Linked DNA regions of Homo sapiens: region 1 is linked to region 2. Evidence: promoter capture Hi-C in human tissues and cell types (Jung and others, 2019). All regions are on one chromosome and are shown on one strand. The core of a region is centred on a gene start or on the middle of the fragment in contact, and the rest is flanking DNA. Distances in the headings are between cores, read along the strand shown. Region 1 holds the start of FBLN5 (fibulin 5). Region 2 holds the start of CCDC88C (coiled-coil domain containing 88C).

The links. Contacts are between HindIII fragments. The study calls those that stand out against the background at their distance.
Region 1: the fragment with the promoter of FBLN5 here is called in contact with the fragment with the promoter of CCDC88C in region 2 in 2 of the 25 tissues and cell types used here (mesendoderm cells and pancreas).

What each region holds. Positions count from the first base shown.
Region 1 is chr14:91,945,677-91,949,452 of GRCh38, reverse strand. FBLN5 (fibulin 5) reads left to right here and starts at 1,759. Exons shown (of 11, transcript NM_006329.4): 1 at 1,759-2,240. The coding sequence starts at 2,224. The HindIII fragment of the contact is 12,789 bases long and covers 1-3,776 here.
Region 2 is chr14:91,416,169-91,419,573 of GRCh38, reverse strand. CCDC88C (coiled-coil domain containing 88C) reads left to right here and starts at 1,754. Exons shown (of 30, transcript NM_001080414.4): 1 at 1,754-1,943; 2 at 2,736-2,836. The coding sequence starts at 1,884. CCDC88C-DT (CCDC88C divergent transcript) reads right to left here and starts at 1,328. Exons shown (of 3, transcript NR_184261.1): 1 at 1,234-1,328. It also overlaps the pseudogene LOC112268126. RefSeq lists enhancers at 339-388, 629-1,273, 2,879-3,168, 3,179-3,308 and a silencer at 1,339-2,258. The HindIII fragment of the contact is 13,115 bases long and covers 1-3,405 here.

The DNA.
Region 1 (3,776 bases), core at 510-3,009, 530 kb before region 2:
CCACACCCTGATCTCAGACTTCCAGCCTCCAGAACTGGGAGAGATAAATGTTATTGCATAAACCACCCAGTCTATGGTATTCTGTTATAGCAGCCTGAGCTAAGACCAATAATACTCATGGTTTCTTGTGCATCCTTCAGGTGATGTCTTTTCTGTACGTGTACAAGCAAGAACTTATGTATTTATTTTTTTTCCCACAAATGATGGCATGCTTTACACACAGTTCTGCAGCTTACTTTTTACATTTATTACTATATTAGATCAATCTATGTGAAATTACCAATATTCTACTGTTTTGACCCACAAAATATATTGGAAACCCTTCAATAGCAGTGCATACGGAGCTGTTTCAGTCTTTTTTTCAAAATAAGATATAACATACATAAGACTTCACAAATATTAAATGTACACACCCCTACATAACCAGCATCCAGATCAATCATTAGATTATTACCAGCACCCAGAAGGGGCTGGGCTGCCTCCCAGTCACTATCTGACTTTGAATTTTATATAAATGGAGTCGTTTGATGTGGACTCTTAAGTGTCTAGGTTTTAATTGGTTGCACAATAGTCCCTTTGGAAGCCCCTTACTTTATTTAACCCTATTGGTGCCTTGCTGATCGACCTTAAAGGTGTTTATAATCTTTTGCTTTTACAAACAATGGGGGGATGAACAACCTTATAAACATAAGGTATTTAAAAAAGTGTTTTACAGGAAATTTCAAACACGTAAAAGGAAATAGATTAGACTAGTATAATGGACACAGCTTCAACAACTATCCACATTCTGTTATTCTCCTTTGGGTAGAATTCCATTTACTTACCCCCAAAAATGCCTTAGGGAAGGCTAAATATGTAGACTCCAGAGGCTCAGCTGTACCAATGAATAGCTGCGTGACTATGGGGAGGTTACCTAACCTCTCTTATCTTCACCTCTAATAACATGGAGATGATCATTCCTACTGCTTAGAGTGGTGGTGAGGACAGGGGACCTGGATCAGGGCTTTTCGGCTGCAGGTAGGAAGATGCAGGTGGAAGCAGATGGGATAGGCCACAGTCCATCCACTGGCGTTTTATAGAGTGAGTGCCTTCTGTAAGATTTCATTGACAAAAGTACTCCAATGGCTTAAAAACAAACAAACAAACAAACAAACAAACAGGAAAAAGAAACAGGTTGAAGCCTCCACTAGAATGAATGCAAAGGACTCAGCATGTCTTATGTGCTGTCTCCACCATTCTGCTTTTCCAGACTGTCCCTTCTTCAAATCACCGTTTAACTTGTTAAAATCACTTTCGAGCCAGGGGACACTTTTCCAGGAAAGCGAGAAAATGCCAGGGAGAATCGGGGAATGAGGGCGGGGAGAGAAAAGCGTCCTAAGACTTGCATTGCACAAGCTGAAGTCTGGAATTCGCACCAGCGGGATTCCATCCTCTTCCCCCCCACCCCACCCCGCTGCTCCCCACCCCTTCTTCGGGAAGATCGCGACTCTCCCGTCGCTCGCCCCAAGCCTCTGCTTCGTAGGTTCTGGTTTCCCAATCGATCGTGAGTTTCTAGTCCCTGGAGCTGCGTGGGTCGTGAGTTCAAGTCCCTTTCCTTCCGGAGGCGACAACGTTCTCGCGGGTCCCCTTGCCACGCAGCGCGGGCGTGCACGCCCCTCCCCGCCGGGCCGCGCTGCCAGCCCCGCCCCGCCCCTGGGTGGGAAGGTCAAGGGGCCCGGGCCCTCCCAGCCCCCGCACCCCTGCGCGCGCCCGCCCCTCGCCTTCTGCCCGGGCGCTCGCAGCCGAGCGCGGCCGGGGAAGGGCTCTCCTCCCAGCGCCGAGCACTGGGCCCTGGCAGACGCCCCAAGATTGTTGTGAGGAGTCTAGCCAGTTGGTGAGCGCTGTAATCTGAACCAGCTGTGTCCAGACTGAGGCCCCATTTGCATTGTTTAACATACTTAGAAAATGAAGTGTTCATTTTTAACATTCCTCCTCCAATTGGTTTAATGCTGAATTACTGAAGAGGGCTAAGCAAAACCAGGTGCTTGCGCTGAGGGCTCTGCAGTGGCTGGGAGGACCCCGGCGCTCTCCCCGTGTCCTCTCCACGACTCGCTCGGCCCCTCTGGAATAAAACACCCGCGAGCCCCGAGGGCCCAGAGGAGGCCGACGTGCCCGAGCTCCTCCGGGGGTCCCGCCCGCGAGCTTTCTTCTCGCCTTCGCATCTCCTCCTCGCGCGTCTTGGACATGCCAGGAATAAAAAGGTGGGTTCTCGGCGCTGGACTTTTCTTTCTCCAGGGTCTGGAAGCCTTGCTAAAAATCCGATGGGTGGAAAATGGTTATGGCTGCGATTCAGGCGGTGTCAGGATATTGGAAAAGGCATGAGCTAGTGATGCAATGATATTGTTAATTATAAAAAGCTGCGCCTCTGTAATTTCCATCTTGAAGCGTTCTTTTGGGAGTGGGTATTTTCTAATACAGTTTCAAAAGCCAGCATCAGAGAGGGCTGCGAAATTCTCAGCGCTTCATTCCTCTTTCTTTTCTGGAAAGGGCAGCAACTTTGTCGTTTTAAGGGATTTTTGTATGTATTTTTTAAATTTCGGGAGGCCAATTACTAGTTCACTAGCAATTACTGCGCCGCATCGGCTGATAGACAAGCAGACAGGCTAGCTGAACACCGCGGGGCTGGATTTGCTCTATGTTTGTGTGGGATTCTCACAGAAGTTTCAAGCCAATGAGAAGTGGGAACTGCAGACAGAGATACATGTAAGCAAATGTTTTGCTATTCTTTAAGGAAATTGCAATTACAGTTAAGTAATCCTTAAGTCTTGGAGAACTTTACCTAAATGACACCCACAGTCTTTATTCAGCGAGCTCTTGAAAACATACTGCTTTGAACAAATTAACCTTGTGTGCGTATGTATGTGTCTGTGGGGTGTGTGTGTGTGTGTGTGTGTGCTGAAAACTAAGCTGTAACAATGTCATCCTGGATTGGGGACCAGCACTTCTGTGACAGGCAGTCCTGGTATTTGGTTGGTCTCTCCGGCTTTCCTTGTGTTTCAGGCTGAGGCACAACACCGGCGAACCCACCTGCTTTAGAAAGTTCCCAGGACCGGTTATGAGCACCAACCTGCCTCCCCCCAGCTATTCTTATAGTTAGTTCATTTTTGGAGTTTCCAGGGTTTTTTTTTTTTAATCACAAGGTGCAGCTATTCGTGATGCTGTGAGGCAGTAGTGCTTGGGTATTCTTTCATTTTAGGAAAATCCTATTAGCCTGGAACCTGTTTGGCCCCCAGGACTCAGCTGTGGCTCTTCCAAGAGGCTGGGCTTGAGGCAAGACCTGTCCCAGGGCTGCCTCTAGCCAAAGGGAATGGGGCTGCGGGGAGTAGGGGGAAAGATGGGGTTAGCATGCCTTTTCAACTAGCTCTTGAAGTCCACTGTGTTGCAGTCAGCCTGTTCTTTCTCCAACATAAACGAGACAGGGTTTTATAACCAACTGAAAGGAAACTTCATGTGAAGAAACAGGAAAACATTGAAATTCATAATACACAGACTGGAAAATAAATTTGTTATTGTTCTTTCATTCCTTCCAGATATAAATCTGGCCATGGCAAATATCAAAAAGCCCTGGGATTTGGCTCTGCACTTTATAAGGTCAGAGCTGTCTCCAGCGTTCTAGAATCTGGCTCACCCAGGCACTTACATGAAAACTTGTGGACTCTCAGCGTCCTTATTTTTTGGATTGGGGACTCGATAAAGGAAATGGCCTCGCATCTCCTAAGATCGTATCAGGGCCCTAT
Region 2 (3,405 bases), core at 505-3,004:
AAGGATTCCAGAGTTCTTGCAACATTTGGTAAAATCTTGAACTTGTCAGAAGACCTCTCTCTGGCCTTTTCTCTCATTATTTTAGGGATCAAAACATCTTTTTCGACACGTCTGAGCTGCTGCTCCAAAAACCTGTAGTGTCTTCCCATTGTTTTTGGTATAAAAATCAAACTCCTTGAAATGGTTTACAGGACATTTCATGATTCACAACTGAAACTCCTCCACAGCGATGGCACACACTCCTCTTTGATCTCAATTCTTCTTTCTTGTGGTCTTTGCTTAAACCACTGTTCTTTAAATTTCACAGAGCAACCATCAGAGTTGTTAAATTAATCCGCGGGGTCGAGTGCCATCGCGGCGGGCGGAGAAGCAATTAAGGAACTTCTCTAATGAACTTCTGGTGCACAACAAAACCATGTAGTCTCGAAATTTTAGTTCCTCCGCAGTCCCCCATTGTGTTTTATGCTACCCCGCCTTCCACAGTCTCTAGGGACCCCTAACCGACCCCCTTGGCTCTCAGGCCATAATCTCACAACCCTCCCCAGCCCAACGGGGTCCGCCAGCGCTGGGCTGTAATACCACTCGCCACCAGCAGATGCCGCAGCCCCAACGCTGCACAGAGCCAACTTTCAAAATTACCACCGAGCCTGTCGGCAGCCATTTAGTGCCTGCTGTATACTTGCCAAGCGCCACGCAGGGCCCTTCGGGTCAACCCTGTACCAGTTGGCCCAGCTGCGAAATGCGGCGATCGTTAGGGTTAAATTAGTAAAATGGTCTACAGTGCTTTGAACAATGACCGGCTGGTGGTGTGAAATTATTACCAGGCCGAGACCAGCCTGGAGCCGGCTCCTGCCTCGTGCCGTCCCGCAAGGAGGTCCTGCCCCCGGGCTTGCCTTCCAGCCAGTTGGGGCCTTTGCCCTTTTTCCTGTCGCCTGCCACTAAGCTGCTGCTAGGAACCCCGGCTGGAATTTAGCTCGCCTCCGGCAAAGTGGTGGGGGCGGGCCCGGGTCGGGGAGGCCACATCACCTGCTTCCTGCAGGAACTTTTAGAAGGCAGGCAGCCCGGAACATGGCACGGTGGGGCACGGTAGGGCGCGAGGGGCCGCGCCCCTAAGGCCTAAACTCAACATAAAGTTTCTTCTTTGCCCTCCAGCCCAGCCCCAGGGTCGGGGCGCGTTTATCGCGCCGCGCACAAGCGTGAGGAGCGGGGGTTTGCGGGGCCTCTTGACTGTACCTGGGGCTGCACCTGCCAGGAGTGCGGAAAGGCGCAGGGCCGAGGTCCCCAAGCCCAGAGCGGGCGGCAGCTGCGGGCGACCTCGGAGGGCAGAGCAACCTCGGAGGGCAGGGCGTCCCCGCTCCCGGCACGCACCAGTGCCCGCGCACCCCAGCTCGCACGTGGCGCTCGGGCCCCGGCTGCACGCGCACGCGCGCAGGGATGCGCCACGTGCTGGGGCCCCACACGCGGGGAGGCTGCGCTCGGCGAGGGCGCGCGGTCCCACGGGCGGGGAGCCGGGCCCCGCGACCCACCCGCCTCGGGCCACCAGTCCCCTCCCAGCGCCCCGCGTAGCCTGGTCCCGCGCCCGGGCTCCCGGGCTCCCGGGCTGGCACCGCGAGGCGGCGCGCCGGTCGCCCAGGGCCGCCGAGGGGCGGGGCCGCCCGTATTGTTCCTCCCCGAGCGGCTGGCCCTCCCCTTCCCCCAGACCCGGGCGGGGCGCGGGGCCGCCGAAGCCGCGGAACGTGGGCTCGCGCGCCCCGCCTTTGTCTCCCGGGCGCGAGCCGCCGCAGCCCCGCGCCCGCTGCTCGCTGCGGAGCCGTTTTGTGCCGCGGCGCGGGGGAACGGGGACGCGGGGCGGGGGGCGCGGAGCCGGCGGGCGCAGCCTCAGCATGGACGTGACAGTCTCGGAGCTCCTGGAGCTCTTCCTGCAGAGCCCGCTGGTGACCTGGGTGAGTGCGCCTGGCTCCCCGCCCCTTTGTTGGTGCACCGGCTTCTCTCTAGCCCGGCGACGGGACGCCGCAGACCCGACACGGCCGGGGCCCCGGGTGGCTCCGGGGCGCGAGGGACGCAGCAAGTGGCTCCCGGCCGGGGTTGGGGCCGCGTCCTGGAGTCCGGAGCTTTGTAACTCTGGAGCCGGCGCCCCCGTTGTGCGTCCGGCGCGGGACCCCGCCGCGCTTTCGGCCGGGCCAGGAGCCGGGCGGGTACACCTGTTCCCGCTGGGGCTCTAGGCTGGCTGCCTCGGGGCGGACCGGGTCCCAGTGGTCACTCCTGTCCCTGGGGTTTAGCCACTCCCGAAAAGGACCCCATTCTTCCCAACCAAATATCTCATGTAGTTTTTCTGAATCCCTGAGACCAGCCGGTGGATGGCGGTGACGGGTGGGGAATGGGGGGCGCCGAATGGGAAAGCGAACAGACTGGGGTGGGCGCACTGATTTACAATGGATTTGAGACGTGAGACATTTATTGAAAAGTCCTTTTTATTTTTATTTCTTCCGCTCTGGAACGCGGGAGAAAAGTGGCGAGGAAGTTTTTCCTCCTGTCTCGTGTCTGTTGCCCCGCGCGGGGAGGGGAGACAGGCCCTAGGAGAAGGCCGGGCTTGGTGCCTGCTGAAGGGTGGTGTGGGCGTGGGTGACCCCCTTCTGCTCACACTGACCCGTCCAGTCTCTGCCTGGGAGAGCTTTGGACCGTTTGTGCGCACGGGGTGACTTCCTGTCTTTCTCTCCTCGTCCCCCTCCCCGCAGGTGAAAACTTTTGGCCCGTTTGGAAGCGGCAGCCAGGACAACCTGACTATGTACATGGATTTAGTGGACGGCATCTTTTTGAACCAAATTATGCTGCAAATGTAAGTTACCTTCTTCTCGGAGGAAGGAAAGAATGGTGCGTTAGAAAGTTTGAGAGTAGAAATGGAGTGGAAGGTTGCATGGCGGGGTGTGTGTGGGGTGGGGGGTAGTTCTCTGAAGGTGGAGACGCTGGTATCTCAGTATTAACGTGCCTGTTGGACATTCGTAGGTGTTTGAAGAACTCCAGGACAGTGGGTCTGGCAGTTGGTTTGATGAAGGAAATTTGGAATTGAATGACTGTCATTTACGTGGTGTAGATAGTGCAATTGACTTCAGACTCAAGGACTTAATTGTGGTTTGAGCAATGAAATGAAAAAGTCCCCTTTTGGAGGGCAAGGAACTGTAACGGAGAGTGTCTGGTTACAGGAAGTGTCGGGGTGGGCCCAGGCATCCGAGGGTTACTGTAAAGTTTCATTTTAGATGAGGGTGTCTGTGTTTCTGAGCTCCTTTACATTTCATCTTCCTTTTTCAGTTGCCCCAAAGCAAGTGCAATTCATTAAGTCCTACTGTATGGACTGAGTTTAAAGTCACAGTGTTAGGAGGGTCCCATGGTGCTGTTTGTTTGGAAGCA